Linked DNA regions of Homo sapiens: all the other regions are linked to region 1. The links are contacts of gene promoters, found by promoter capture Hi-C in blood cells and fetal thymus (Javierre and others, 2016). All regions are on one chromosome and are shown on one strand. Each heading gives the region's core, a stretch centred on a gene start or on the middle of the fragment in contact. The rest is flanking DNA. Distances are from core to core; before and after follow the strand shown.

Region 1 (3,123 bases), core at 296-2,795:
CAGCTTCGTGGCCTTCTTCAACCTCTGGAGAGGGGCCTGCAGAACCCTCTGGCTCACTGTAACTTAGGAATACTGGGGCTGCTACTGGAGAAGCTCTCCCTTCTGGAAGCTGCTCTACCTCAGCAATCAGTGGCAGAGATGTCGGCACTGAGGGCTGTTCGGGGGCACTGGCTGGGCAGGGTGCTGGATCTCTGGCCTTGGAAAAGATACCCACGAGTACAAGGTGGATCCAGTCAGGATCTGACAGCCTGCTGATCAGTGGTAAGATTACATTGCATGTGATGAGTTCGACCACTACATGGCGTCCGGTACGAGTCTCCAAGTGGGGCTTGGGCACCAGCCCTTGAAGCAACAAATTCACAACGCCACGCGTATAGGTGACTTCAGCACTGGGGCTGTGCACAGCAGGATGTGGGGCAGTCGCCCGGCAGTAAGCCTCCCAGAGGTGGGAAGGCTCAACTGGACCATTCTTCCCTGCAGTGGCCTCCTTTGCCTGAATGTAGCTCTGCAGGTGACAACCGCAGAGAGTCAGAACACTCTGGGCAACAGCATGACTGTCCATCACGCTCATCCTTCTCCGAAGCTCCTGGACCAACCCTTTCATGGCTGCCTCCATTTCTTCCTCAAAGGCTGGCTCCTGGCTCACGGAACGGTACCAAGATAACACAAAATCTCGAATAATCATCTGGATGGTGCGGTTGATCTCCCGTTCCAGCTGCCTTTCTGCCTCAGGGCATGGAGGACAGGTGGCCAACGGGATGAAGCGTTCCAGATGCAGTCGACCTGAAGCCACTCCAGCGAGGCTGGAGCCCAGCCATCCTCCCAGCACCACTAGCAATGCCGACAGAAGGCACAGCAGCCACACGTTGACCAGAAGGTGTATGACCAGGAGCCAGCCAAGCAAGACCCCCACAGCCATCAGCTTCCGGCTACTCAACAGGTTATTGAGGTGACAGCTCGATCCAGCTGGAGTTTCCTGGAACGGTGGCACTGTTTCTGTCTTCATGGCTGAACGGACAAGGTGGCTTCCCCAGATGACAGCCCTCAAGATTTTACTTCAGAGTTAGGGAAGGGGGGCATGAACTGTGTCTCAGATATGGGGCGATCTGGGTGCTGTTCAGGGAACCGGGGCTCCAGGCCCTCAAAGTCCTACAGGCACTGCAAAGCGACAGCTGCAGCTCCGCGTCTCCCCATGGCTACCACTAACAGAGCCCTCCAACTCGCCCCTTCCAGCTGAGGTGTGGCTTTGGAGGAAAACTCTGTGGCCTTCACACTGCCCCAGGCGGAAGGCCTCTTCGGGGCCTCGGGGCGGGCGCTGCAAGGCCCTGGGGCCCACGGACACTTACACACGCAGCGGGCAGCGGCCGGCGAAGACTGGGTCACACGCCGCCGGGAACCGCGCGCCCACACTCAGCCCCGACCTGAAGTGGACTCATCGCGGTCCTCTCCGGGAGCCTCGGCCCTCTGCCGCCGTAAACCTGGGCGACTGCGCTCCGCAGCCGGGCCTGTGTGAAGGCTGACCGCCGGCCGGCCGCCGGCGACAGCTTCCGGGTCGACGTCGACGGGAGCGAGGCATGCTGGGAGAGCGTCCGCGCGCGCCCCGAGGAGCGGCGCTGCCCGGCGCCCTCTGCTGGCGAGGAGCCGCCCTGACGGCCCTGCGCGAGGTAGTCTCTGAGCCTGAGCGTGAGCCTGAGCGCGCACGGGGCGCGTGCTCGCCAAGAGCTGGCGCAGATTTCCGAAGTGCCACGAAACAGCCGCCGCAGCAATCACCGCTAAGACCCAGACTTCCAGGCGCTTTAAAACGCGTCCTAGTTCTGGTTATTAAATGAAGCCTGTCCTTTACTGCTTAGGCACGCTGTCAATAATCCGGTTTATTTTAATTTCATGGAGGCGAAGTTTCATTGGCCTGATGTGTCTTAACATTTATCCGGTTTCCCCTAGAGCCGGTACCCCGCGTCCCCAGCACAAAGACCCTCATTTGTTGTCAGGAATTGCAGAATATAAGGCATGAAACGATACAGAGATAGATTTATGTTGTACATTTCATATACTGTATCACAAAATCAAATTTGTGATTGAGGGTTATTTGCTGGTGGCATTACACAAACAATCAAATATTTTGAGCATCTGCTGTCTTCAATGTGAGAGGCAGCGTGGACGAATAGAAGCAGACCTTGTCCTCCAGGACCTCCTGCTAACTGGGGATGCCAGCGCTTTGAACGCGATTGGCTATCTAGTAATGCCAGTCAGCGTGCGATATAGTAAAATACAAAATCTTATAGGAATTCAGGGGAAGGAGAGATCACTGTGGGTTGCAATGGTTAAGGAGAAGCTCACAGAAAAGGTGCCTTTCTGCTGAGTCTTCAAGGATGAGGGTTTCTATTTCCCTCTATCTCTTCTCGCCTTATCCTCCCCAAAAACATAGAAAAGGAAAGCAGAGATAGAGGTGTCCTTTCAGATAATCCTGTAATATATTTGCTTTGGAATATGCTCTATGTTGGATTGTTTTTGGTTTTAGCAAATTAGACTTCACTTGTCTACACAGGAACCTATAGGAAGACAAAATACCGGAAGCACTGACCAGGTGTCAAAAGTGTTAGTGTCAGTTTTGCGTGAAGCCAGCTTCCATGTCCACCTTGGGCCCTAGGAGCTGTGCCCGCAGGGTGGGTCTCCTTTCCATTTAGGCATAGGATTCGCATCGTTTGCACAGAGCTGCTCATGGTTGCCCTTCGTCCACCTTCTCTGTGCTGTGAGCAGTCTTTCATCATCATGGACTACTCCCTAGATGTTTAAAGGAATCTTCAAACAAATCCCAACCCAAAACTCTGCCAACAAGAAGTGCGTTGCAGCTTCCTGTCTCGTCCATTGCTGCTGTTGGGGCAGAGACTTCCTTTGAATACGAAAGAAGCCATCATTTAGATGTGACCCGTAGTTTACGATTCATCACTTCTAAAGCAAATGGTTTGATTTAGGATCAGTGTCCACTAAGCAGACTGGGCACTCCCGTGAGATGGCAGAATGTGAATCCACGGTTTCACGGTCCATACCTTTTCACTGCTGCCTGCCTTCCCGCAGAAAAGGAACCCGAGAAGTGGGCTCTGCCCCTCTACCTTCCCAGACCAT
Region 2 (2,813 bases), core at 1-2,500, 1.0 Mb before region 1:
TTCCACAAACACCACATTCCACAAATCTTACCACGCCAGGTGTCAATTTCCTTATTTGAGGAAGGGAAGCTGGACCAGGTCCTCCCTCCCGTTATTTCCAATTCTGGAATCCTGCAATGAATAATCTCTAGATGAGTGACAGTGTGAATTACGTAATACAGGTACTTTTCTTTTCCAAAATTCTCCAATGATAAAGAACAGTTCTAGAATAACTATATGTAAAATGAAGCATGTTCCACTAAATTATTTCAAGCTCCCTTGAAGAGATTTCAGATCCATGTAAAGATATAGCAGAAACTTAAGCGTTGAGTCAAGTCACGTGGGTGGTCCCCAAGCAACTGTGCCCCCTCATCACCCTTCAGCACATGGTGAAATGACATCCTCATCATGCCTATGCCTAAATAAGTGAAGCGGGTGAGACAGCACATAGCATGTGAGTTTAACAAAACTTCAAAATAGCACCAAAAAAAAATTGCAGAAGCAACCTGATGCTCAGAATAAAACCTTCTTAACAGAACTGGCATAGAACAGACTATCAACTGCAAAGTCAGTGTCCTACCTGCCTCTTAGGAGGTCTCTATACAACTTGCTCACAAGTTTCTTCAGTGACGGTGCGTGTCTAGCTAAAGTTAATCTAGTCCACTGACAACCTTTGCACTGCCACTATTCTGAACAGAATCTCAAAATACCAAAACCAGGCAGCTGCCAGGGAGTTGGACCCCGGAAGCCAAGGATTTCCAGATCTTCGGGCGTTCTGAACCTCTTCACTAGACCACGAAGGCCTCTCGGCCTCTCATCACTGGCTTTCAGCACCTGGTCTAACTTTCCCCGCTGGACCCTCCCCAACGCAGAAGCTAAACCCTCGGGTCCTTCCAGAGCAACCGCCGGCTCCAAAGCCCTCAACTCTGCAGCAAATTCCCCTCCGGTGCCAGCCCGGCTGGCCCAAGGCCCGGGTCCAATCCTCAGAACTGCACGGCTCGGCCCCGCCCCTCCCCCACGCCGTGCCTAACCCTAACCCCCAGCCTCACGCGTCGCACCGCTCCCCACGCCCCGCTCCCGCTCCCCACGCCCACACGGGCAGCGACCTCGCGGACCCAGCCGCCCGCTCCCGCTCCCTCCACTCCCAGGAGACACTTCAACCCTTTCGCCGCCCCTTGCCCGCCCTCACCTGAACCGCGGGCGCCGGCCCCCTAACCCGCAGCCCTTCTCCGGCCGCGGGCTCCCAGACGCACTCGCTCCCGCAAGGAGTCTGGGTGCGCGCACGCTCTGGGCCTGCGCGGCGGAAGGGGCGGGGCAGCGCGGGGCGGGGCCTGGAGGGTGCCGGGGCGGGGCCACAGCGGGCGGGTCCTGGAGCGGCTCGGGAGAGCGGAGGGTCGGCGAGGGTGCCTGCGCGCGGCTGGGCCTGGGGATGCAGGTTCCAGCCTGCTTGCGCGTCTCACCTGATTTAGGAGCTTCCAGAGGCCCCAGACAGTGCCTGTCTTTGCCTGACCGCGAATCAAAGTTCCATAGCCCGTGAGCGAAGGCACGTCTATTAGCTGACGTTTGCAGAGAGCATACCCTGCCCCAGGCCCTATGCTAAGCACTTTCTACCCACCGTCTTTGTGCTGCAGCCCTGTGAGCTATGCACTATTAGTGCCCATTTTACAGTTGAGGACATGAGTAGAACGCGACCTCAGCCTGTGCTTCCGAGTTCCTTCATTCCTCCTTCCCGTCCCCGGGCCCTCGATGTCCAGAAAGAATGTAAACACATCGAAGGATCACATTTTAAAGTTAAACTCCATCATTTTCCTCTTCTTAGATATGAAGGCCCCTTTCCTGTTATTCACTGGGTTTTGCTTAGTACGGCTTCACACTACTTATTCCAGGTACTCCCAGCAGTGGCGCAGAGACCATCCTCAGTTCTGTGTGTGGATGGGACCAGAGAAGCCGGCCGGCCGAGCTAATGTTCTTCCCTTCCTGGAAGAGAGTAGTTTCCAAACAACCCGATCTCTGTTCCTCTACTGGCTCCACATATGCTCTAAGTTCCTGTTACACTGTTGAGAGGCTCTTGAATTAGAAACTATCGAGTATAAATGGCAGTGGAATATCACTCTATAGTTGTCACCGATATTTCCCTTACCTTGAGATTGTGACAAGACCAGAAAGAGAAAAAGAGTAAAAACAATGTAAACTATAATTTTTGATAGACTTTGTTTTTTTAAAGTGGTTTAAAGTTAACAAAATTGAGCAGAAAGATATTTTCCAAATACTCCCCGCCCCACCTCCCCACATGCATCGCCTTCCCTTTATCAACATCCTCTACCAGAGTGGTACATTTCTTAGAACTGATGAACCCGGCCCGGCCTGGTGGCTCACGCCTGTAATCCCAACACTTTGGGAGGCCGAGGCGGGCGGATCCCGAGATCAGGAGATCGAGACCATCCTGGCCAACATGGTGAAACCGCGTCTCTACTAAAAATACAAAAATTCGCCGGTCGTGGTGGCGGGCACCTGTAGTCCCAGCTACTCGGGAGCTGAGGCAGGAGAATTGCTTGAACCGGGGAGGCGGAGGTTGCAGTGAGCCGAGATTGAGCCATTGCACTCCAGCCTGTCGACAGAGCGAGACAGAGCGAGACTCCATCTCAAACAAAAGAACTGATGAACCTACATTGATACATCATTACCCACCATCACAGTATAATGCAGAGTAATTTCACTGTCTTAAAAATCATCTGTGCTCTGCATATTCATCTCTCCCTCTCCTCTACCCCTGGCAACCGCTGATCTTTTTGTCTCCATAGTTTTGCCTTTTTCCAGAGTGTCATCTAGTTGGA
Region 3 (2,978 bases), core at 460-2,959, 1.1 Mb before region 1:
ATGTTAGAATGTGTAAGCAAACGACAGTGCCTTTAGAATTACAATTCTAACTTACATATTTTTTGAAAGTAAAATAATTCACAAGCTTTGGTATTTTAAAATTATTGTTAAACATATCATAACTAATCATACCAGGGTACTGCAATACCACTGTTTATAAGTGACAAAATTAGGCCAAAGGTGATTTTTTTTTAAATCAGGAAGCTGGTTACTGGCTCTACTGAGAGTTGGAGCCCTGATGTTCTGATTCTTCAAAGTCACCCTAAAAGAAGATCTGACAGGAAAGCTGTATAATGAGATAGAAAAACGTCAGGTATGGAAGGCTTTCAGTTTTAATATGGCTGAAAGCAAAGGATAACGAATTCAGAATTAGTAATGTAAAATCTTGATACCCTAATCTTGCTTCTGGATCTGTTCTTTTTTTAAAAAAACTTCCTTCACCGCGCCTATAATCCTAGCACTTTGGGAGGCCGAGGCAGGCAGATCACGGGGTCAGGAGATCAAGACCATCCTGGCTAACATGGTGAAACCCCGTCTCTACTGAAAATACAAAAAATTAGCCGGGTGTGGTGGCGGGCGCCTGTAGTTCCAGCTACTCGGGAGGCTGAGGCAAGAGAATGGCATGAACCCGGTAGGGGAGCTTGCAGTGAGCCCAGATCATGCCACTGTACTCCAGCCTAGGTGACAGAGCAAGACTCTGTCTCAAAAACAAGCAAACAGACTTCCTTCAACAAATATTTATTAAATATCCACTTTGCAACAGCACTGAAATGGCTGTAAGGACTCCTGAGATATGTGTCCAGCAAGGAGTTTACAGTCAAACAGGAGAGACATGCCTGTAGTTACATCCAGTGTGATGGGTGCTGAGAGGCAAGTACAAACCACGATGAGAAAAAGGAGAGGAGGGGAAATGCAGAGCTTGCCCTGTAGAAAAAGCACATCCCAGGTAGAGAGGGTAGCACATTAAAAAATGAAAGCATAAAAAAATACGGAGAACTTAAAAAGATTAAGTTCTACAAACTGATAAAAGTGAGTTAGGACCAAGTTGATGGGCCTTAGAGACCAAATAATACTTTCCGTGTGCATAGTATTTTTCAGATTCTGAGATGCACCCTATCTCATTTGATTCTCACAACCGCTTGTAATGTGTAAGAGCATGAGGTCTTTCAGAAAAGCTGGCTGGCCTAGCAGGGCGCGGTGGCTCACGCCTGTAATCCCAGCACTTTTGGAGGCCGAGGCGGGTGGATCATGAGGTCAAGAGATCGAGACCATCCTGGCCAACATGGTGAAACCCTGTCTCTACTAAAAATATAAAAATTAGCTTGGTGTGGTGGTGAGCACCTGTAGTCCCAGCTACTTGGGAGGCTGAGGCAGGAGAATCACTTGAACCCAGTAGGCGGAGGTTGCACAGTGAGCCGAGATTATGCCACTGCACTCCAATCTGGCAACAGAGTGAGACTCCATCTCAAAAAAAAAGAAAAGTTGGCTGGCCTAAGACCACACAGATGCTAGGTGGCAAAGCCAGTCTTATGACTCCAAAACCAGGCATCTGTCTCACCATTCTAACCCTGCTACGTCACACAAATCCAGGAGAGAGAATTTACATAAAGCACTGCATGCGCTTTGGAAGAAATGCTGTACTTAATTAAGTGAAGGTAACCTCCCAGAGTTAGCCAGCCTTTCAGAGTTGAAGTCACAGCTTAGGGATTCAAAATGAGCTACTAAAAACACTAATTTAGTTATTAGAGAACTCCGGGTTCCACTTTCAGGATCCACCTTGGTTGGCCAGTGGAAAAACACAAGTATTCTTCATTCAACAAGTACTGAAGGACCTATTATTGGCAATGAACGTAACATGTGTTCTTTCCTTGGGGACTGCAGGTGGGCAGAAGGACCTGTTCAGTTTTACTTTCAAAGAAAAGATCCACATTTGAGGTTTCTTTAAGTGTACCATATTTTAAGAAAGAAAATGTACTATTTTCTCCAGAGTGAGGGGCTAAGGTGTGAAGAACAGATATAAAATATTAAAATGTATTCAGATGCCCTTCACACAGCAAGGCTTGTGATGCCTTCATGGAAGTGATCAACCCTATCATAAACATTGTTAGATGTGGTATTAAAGTATAAACTGATGACAGTACTATTCTCCACATCCTGTCTTAGATATGTTTTCTGAATAATTTTACCCATATCTGTCAACCAGAGGCTCAATGGTTGCCACCAGAAGTCCTTTTGAAATTGTTCCCTACAAAACACCCACCATGGCTGGGTGCAGTGGCTCACGCCTGTAATCCCAGCACTTTGGGAGGCTGAGGCAGACAGATCACCTGAGGTGACAAGTTGGAGACCAGCCTAGCCAAAATGGTGAAACCCCATTTCTACCAAAAATACAAAAATTAGCAGGGCGTGGTGGCACGTGCCTGTGATTGATCCCAACTACTCAGGAGGCTGAGGCAGGAGAATCACTTGAACCCAGGAGGCGGAGGTTGCAGTGAGCTGAGATCTTGCCGCTGCACTCCAGCCTGGGCTACAGAGTGAGACTCCATCTCAAAAACAAAAACAAAAACAAAACACTCACCATAGCTGTGCCATTCATCTATCAGAAACCTGAAGCCAGCATATGAAGGAAGCAAGTGTGGCACAAATCCTGGGCTGTCACCGTAAACAGCTCCAGTAGGAAGTTCCCATTCTCCGCTATTGCCATTCCACCCACAGGCTGGATAGTGCCGAAGTTACACTTCTGAGGAGTCAGCATCCTGACGCAGCCTAAACTTTACACTCACTCCCTGCTCTCCAGAATGCACACGTCTGCCTGTGCAAAAACGACAAGCAGAGTCAGGTGACCTCAGCTAACAGGAATGTGGGCAGGGCTGCGGCTGAATGCCAGAGCTACTTTTATTAAATTCCTTGTTAAGTAAATTCAAAAGGGGTTTGTTTGTAGCTGGCAGTAAATACCTAAGACAAGATCTCTGGAATTT
Region 4 (2,773 bases), core at 23-2,522, 1.0 Mb before region 1:
TGATCTCAGCTCACTGCAACCTCCACCTCCCAGGTTCAAGCAATCCTCCTGCCTCAGCCTCCCTAGTAGCTGGGATTACAGCCGTGCACCACCATGTCCAGCTGATTTTTGGATTTTTAGTAGAGACAGGGTTTCATCACGTTGACCAGGCTGGTCTTGAACTCCTGAGCTCAGGTGATCCGCCTGCCTTGGCCTCCCAAAGTGCTGGGATTACATGCATGAGCCATCGCATCCAGCCCTTACACACTTTTAAGAGTCACTTTTAGGTAACACCTTAAGAATTCAGAGGGCCTGTGAACTCAGGTGGGAAGCAAAATTACATCTTAAACTGAAATTAAGTATTTCCTTTAATTATGAACAAAGGGAACAAACCATATACTGCAGTGCTGTGATGGTGTAATAGAAATCAGACATTTTCATATATTACAGCTACTGCAGATAGCTAAGAATATCATTTATACTCATCACTACTTGGAAATTTCAAGAAATGTCAGACCTCCTGCTAGATCTTGTCATATAACATCATAGTAACAACACATATTTCTGCACCATAAACTTGTTTTAACATTTTGATAACTACTTCAAAACAACTGGTCTCTTTTGTAACTGTATTTTATTTCATACATTTAAAAGCATAACTCTGAGAAGGGGTCCACAAGTTCCACCAGACTGCCAAAGGGATTCCTGGCATTCAAAAAGCTAAGAATCCTCACTGTTAAATGAAGCATAGCCTGGAGAAAGCAAATTCCTGTATTTAACCTATTTAGCTGGTCTGGGAGCAACTCCTAAATGAACATAAATGTAAGCCCAGACTTAAGGAAGAAGACTGGGAGCTGAAGATGTCCCCTTCAGCTCCCAAACTGCAATGCTTTGAAAAACTATGCCTTGTTCTCAAAGCCTACCCTGGGTGGAGGGGTAAGGAGAGGACAGAGTTCAGAGTTGGTAAGAGAAAAGCTGCGGGGTGAAGAAAGGGATCTCTGATAATCGACACGTGCCACCTACCAAGAGACAGAATGGTGACGTAGGCAGGCCGGTCGGAGCGCAGCAGGGAGTGCTCCCGAGCCTTGTTGAGCGAGGTCTCCTTGTCAAACACGCCCTTCACTGGCCCCACCACAGACTCAAAGCCGTGCATGCGAAAGGTGAACGCCTTATGGGGTTGGCTATACCTGTAACGCTCCTACCAAGAGACAAGGGACAAGAGTTCTAGGTCAGAATTAGTGGGGTTCTCTCTCGGGCTTCCTTACAATATAAGCAGATCCACATGGAACAATTAAAACAGGAAGGAACAAGTGATTCTATGATTCTAGTAGGAATGTTCAGCCAACCACAGTGGGAAAAGGATGGTTCTCAGAGCCAGTCACTGAGCAGAGGGACAAGGAGGTAATATGAAGGCACTTTGCTACCTGGAAGACAAGATCATCCAAGTATTTCTTACTCCCCTTCCCCACACCGTTTCCACCCCCAACAAGTAATCCCAGCCAACAGAAGGTCTAAGGGGAAAGGTATGAGTTTCTTGCAAGAAGGTAGATGCAGGAGAGTCAGGCTCAGAGCATCTCTCTGCATGGCTCACAGAGGCAGAGACTTACACTGGCTTTTAGGTTCTTACCTGCTCCTGAAAAACCCGTTTCTCCTCCCCCGTGCTGGGACGCACCACATAGTCAGTTCTTCTGGAATATAAAGAATTCTGTATCAACCCTGACAGCTGGCACGTGTGTCAGACCCATTGCCCCTGCTTCAGAACCATTCCCACTGTGACATGGAAAGATGTCCCTCAAGAAGCACTCAATTCTTACAAAGGCGAAGAGCCCACCTTCCAGCTCCTACGAAGTAACTCCTGTTGGTAATTCCAAAATCACTTGATTCTTAGAAACCCAGAAAGGTACTGGGTGGATAGATGGACAAGAGGCTGACATCTTTAACTACTGCTTTCAATATTGCTGTTAAGTAGGTCCGTTCTAAAGGCAACAAACAATTCGGCCTTAGAGGAACAAAGGGCTTCAGGTGTGTTAGATAAGGGTTGTTTTTCTACCTCCAGGGAAAGTACCCGGGGCTTGAGATCTACACCTCTATTACATGAAGCAAAAGTTCTGCCACACTTAGACCGGGCCTCTGTCCTGGTGTCAGAAAACTACCGAACCATGCCAGGGAAGAAAAAGAAACATGGGACAATGTGATATAAAGAGCCTAGGACTAAGAGTCAAGAGATCTAAGTTCTAGCTGGGGTCCTGCTGCTAACCTTCAGCAAGTCACTCAACTTCATGCTTCCATTTACTGGACTAAGATGGCCTAGATGAATAATTCTCAAGTAGGAGCCCAGGGAGGAGTACACATTAAAAAAGTATGTCCACCTACAAAGCAGGTCATATGCCCCTTAGAGGCTCTCCTGCCGTCCCCTCTCTCCACCACAGCCCCTTCCACAAGGAGTCCCGTTCACTCAGGGGGTGCGGCCAAGTCAGGAAGAACCAGGGGACTCCTCAGAGCTCTGAAGCCCATTACAGCTCTAGCATACCAAGAAGTATTAACAAAACCAAGGCAGTATCTGAACTACAGTTTCCCAGGACACCACCCACCACTACAGTATTGTACTCACACCCGAGGGACAGGTGTTGTGGCATCTGAGCTGTCTTCATTTTCTTGCTGGAGAAAAAGAAAACGTTGACAGGTAAATGGACTAAAGAATTTGGGCAAACTTAAGAGCTCTGGAAACCCAGTGAGAAGGATCTGGTATTTCTTAAAAAAACATACCTTACAGAAGGCCTGATCTTTGGTCTCT
Region 5 (2,998 bases), core at 482-2,981, 1.6 Mb before region 1:
AAACAAATAAGCAAATAATAAATGAATATGAAGAAGACAAAATGGGATGATATAAAAGAAAGAGGTGGGGGTGCTACATATACAGGTAATCATGATGGTCTCTCTGGGAGAGGACGAAGGCAGCCATGACGAGACTTAAAAGAAGTACATGGCCAGGCGCCATAACTCACGCCTATAATCCCAACACTTTGAGAGGCTGAGGCAGGTGGATCCTTTGAACCCAAGAGTTTGACACCAGCCTGGACAACATAGAGAGACTTCGTCTCTACAAAAATTACAAAAATTAGCCCGGCACAGTGGCACGCACCTATAGTCTTAGCTCCTTGGAAGGCTGACGTAGGAGGATCACCTGAGCCCAGGAGTTCGAGGTTACAACGAGCTATGATCACTCCATCCTGGGTGACAGAGTAAAACCCTGTCTCTAAAAAAAATTAAAAATAAGTCATTTTAAGTAAAAGGAACAGCAAACACAAATCCCTAAGACAGAACGTGCTTTTATTCAAAGGGAAGAAACAATGTCATATACCACACACCCATAAGTATGGCCAAAATTTAAAACACTGACAACACCAAATGTGGACAAGGATGTGGGACAACAGGAACTCTCATTCACTATTGGTGAGGTTGTAAAATGGCACAGCCACTTGGGAAGACAGTGTTGCAGTTTCTTGCAAAACTAAACTTATTCTTAACATATGATCCCGCAATCGCATGCTTAGGTATTTACACAAGATGAAAACTTACTTATTAAAAAAAAAAAACCACACCCAGATGCTTGTAGCAACTTTATCCAGAGCTGCCAAAACTTAGGAGCAACTAGGATGTCCTTCAGCAGGTGAATGAATAAATAAACTGTAGTATATCCAGACAATGGAATATTACTCAGCAATAAAAAAGAAATGAACAATCAAGCCACGAAAAGACAGGGAAGAAACTTAAATGTTTATCCTAAGTGAAAGAAGCTAGTCTGAAGAGGCTACATACTCTATGATTCTAACTATATGACATTCTGGAAAAGGCAAAAGTATGGAAACAGTAAAAAGGCTGGTGGTTGACAGGGGCTGGGGAGAGGGAGGGATGAATAGCCAAATCACAGATGATTTTCAGCAGAGTCAAACTACTCTATAAGATACTATGATGTGGATACATGTCATTATTAATTTGTCCAAATCCATAGAAGGTACAACACCAAGAGTCAGTCTTTTTTTTTTTTCTCCTCTCAGAACAAGTGGGAAAAATGAGTGAATCCTAATGTAACCTATGGACTTCGGGTGATAATGATGTTTCAATGTAGGCTCATCAACTGTAACAAATATGCGACTCTGATGTGGGATGCTGATAATGGGGGAAGCTGCATATGTGTAAAGACAAGGGGTATACAGGAAACTTCTGCACCTTTAGCTCGGTTTTGCTGTGAACGTAAAAATAGTCTACTTAAAAAAAAAAAGGAACATCACTGAGACTGTGGCTCAGTGAACAAAGAAGAAAAGAAGAGAGAGCAGAAGATGAGAGCAGAGAAGCAGCCAGGAGCCATATCACACATTACAAACATTTTGGACCACATAATTTTTTGCTGCTGGGAGTTGTCCTGTGCATTACTGGATGTTGGATGTTTAGCAGCCACTTTGGCCTCTACCCACTAGATGCCAGTGGCAACCTACCCCAATTTGTGACAACCAAGAATGTCTCCAGACATCACCTGAGGGGAAAATCTTCCCTGGTTAAGAACCACTGATATGGAGCCTCATAAGCGACCAAAATGAAGGGTTTATTTCCACGGTAAAATGTTAAGTTTTTGTTTTAGCATTAAGTATATTGGAAAGCCAGTAAGCAGAATGATACGATCTGATTAACGTTTAACATTATTTTGGCTCCCGTGTATGGTAAGAATGAGGGGAAGGACAAGGACAGGAGTAGAAGCAGGGAAGTCTGCTGGCAGTTTGCCAGACGACAAAGCCTACTAGCCTAGCCTAGCCTAGGTTTTTGCCAGTGAAAAAAGTGAGATGTAGTCAGGTTCGGTTTATATTATAAAGGTGGAGGTGACCAGACTTAACATGAGATGAGGAGGAAAAAAAGAAATCAAGGAGGAGGAAGAATCCGGGGTTCTGGCCTGCGCAAGTGGTGGATGATGATGCCACTTACTGAGATGGTAAAGACTTGGGGGAGGTAGAGGAAGAAGTCACCAACAGGAAGAGTAATTCATAGCCCTCCTTTGTTCATGCTGCCTTTGAGGTATCCATTAGACATCCAAGGAGAGGCATGGAGTTACAAGAGTCTAGAGCGCAAGGGGGAAAAAAGTCAGTACTAGAAATAAGAATTTGAGCCTCATCGGCATATAAATGGTATTTGAAACCAAAAATTGGATGAAATCACCTGAGGGACATTCCAAATTTTCAAGGAGTGGGAAAGTAGAGATAAACTGGCAAAAGCATATAGAAAATGAGAATGAACAACTAAGAGGTCAAAACTAGTAAAGTTGGCCACTGTGAAATGCTGGTGAGAGAGGTCAAATAAGATACAAACATTGAACTGACCACTAGCTTTGGCAAGATCCAGGTCACTGCAGTCTTGATTAAAAACAATTTCATTGGAGTGCAATTAAAAAAAGAAATCAAGGATAAGGATGACTCCAGGGGTTCTGGCCTGCACAAGTGGTGGCTGATGATGCCACTTACTGAAATGGTAAAGACTTGGGGGAGAGAGAGGAAGAAGTCACTGGCAGGAAGAGTAATTCATATGATGAGCTCAAATGATCAGGCTAAAGAATCACTGGTGAAGAAGAAGGTACAGCAAATATAAACAACTCTTGAAATTTCTGCTGCAAAAGGAAACAAAAAAAGGACAATAAATGTAAATGAAGGGGATCCCAAGGTAAAGGTGGTTTAAAAGGTGTGATTTATTCATTTAAGGCATCAGTAGCTCAAGAGATAAAACTTTATTCCTCTCTCACCTAACCACCCAAAGATAAATGAGAAGTACAAGGCTAGGAGGCAGTTCT

The links. The method cuts DNA at HindIII sites, captures the fragments that hold promoters and counts their contacts. A CHiCAGO score of 5 or more calls a contact.
Region 2: a contact is called between the fragment with the promoter of NFRKB here and the fragment with the promoter of SNX19 in region 1, in 2 of 17 cell types (total B cells and naive B cells). The highest score is 6.7, in total B cells.
Region 3: a contact is called between a fragment that was not itself captured here and the fragment with the promoter of SNX19 in region 1, in 1 of 17 cell types (neutrophils). The highest score is 6.4, in neutrophils.
Region 4: a fragment that was not itself captured here is called in contact with the fragment with the promoter of SNX19 in region 1 in 2 of 17 cell types (total B cells and fetal thymus); the score reaches 8.7 in total B cells.
Region 5: a contact is called between a fragment that was not itself captured here and the fragment with the promoter of SNX19 in region 1, in 1 of 17 cell types (total B cells). The highest score is 5.2, in total B cells.

What each region holds. Positions count from the first base shown.
Region 1 is chr11:130,914,934-130,918,056 of GRCh38, forward strand. SNX19 (sorting nexin 19) reads right to left here and starts at 1,546. Exons shown (of 11, transcript NM_014758.3): 1 at 1-1,546. The coding sequence starts at 1,006. RefSeq lists an enhancer at 1,289-1,338 and a silencer at 1,459-1,738. The HindIII fragment of the contact is 12,734 bases long and covers 1-3,123 here.
Region 2 is chr11:129,894,328-129,897,140 of GRCh38, forward strand. NFRKB (nuclear factor related to kappaB binding protein) reads right to left here and starts at 1,251. Exons shown (of 27, transcript NM_001143835.2): 1 at 1,169-1,251; 2 at 32-111. RefSeq lists a silencer at 968-1,407. The HindIII fragment of the contact is 7,376 bases long and covers 1-2,813 here.
Region 3 is chr11:129,859,115-129,862,092 of GRCh38, forward strand. TMEM45B (transmembrane protein 45B) reads left to right here. Exons shown (of 6, transcript NM_138788.5): 6 at 1-889. Among named protein-coding and RNA genes, the nearest start is that of NFRKB, 35 kb to the right of the region's middle. RefSeq lists enhancers at 2,614-2,978, 2,720-2,978. The HindIII fragment of the contact is 3,252 bases long and covers 84-2,978 here.
Region 4 is chr11:129,875,719-129,878,491 of GRCh38, forward strand. It overlaps NFRKB (nuclear factor related to kappaB binding protein), which reads right to left. Exons shown (of 27, transcript NM_001143835.2): 14 at 2,746-2,773; 15 at 2,591-2,637; 16 at 1,607-1,667; 17 at 1,003-1,177. Among named protein-coding and RNA genes, the nearest start is that of NFRKB, 18 kb to the right of the region's middle. The HindIII fragment of the contact is 4,077 bases long and covers 1-2,773 here.
Region 5 is chr11:129,269,295-129,272,292 of GRCh38, forward strand. The region is part of intron 1 of LOC399975 (a long non-coding RNA gene); the gene reads right to left. It also overlaps a transcript of ARHGAP32 not described here. Among named protein-coding and RNA genes, the nearest start is that of ARHGAP32, 78 kb to the left of the region's middle. The HindIII fragment of the contact is 6,455 bases long and covers 1-2,998 here.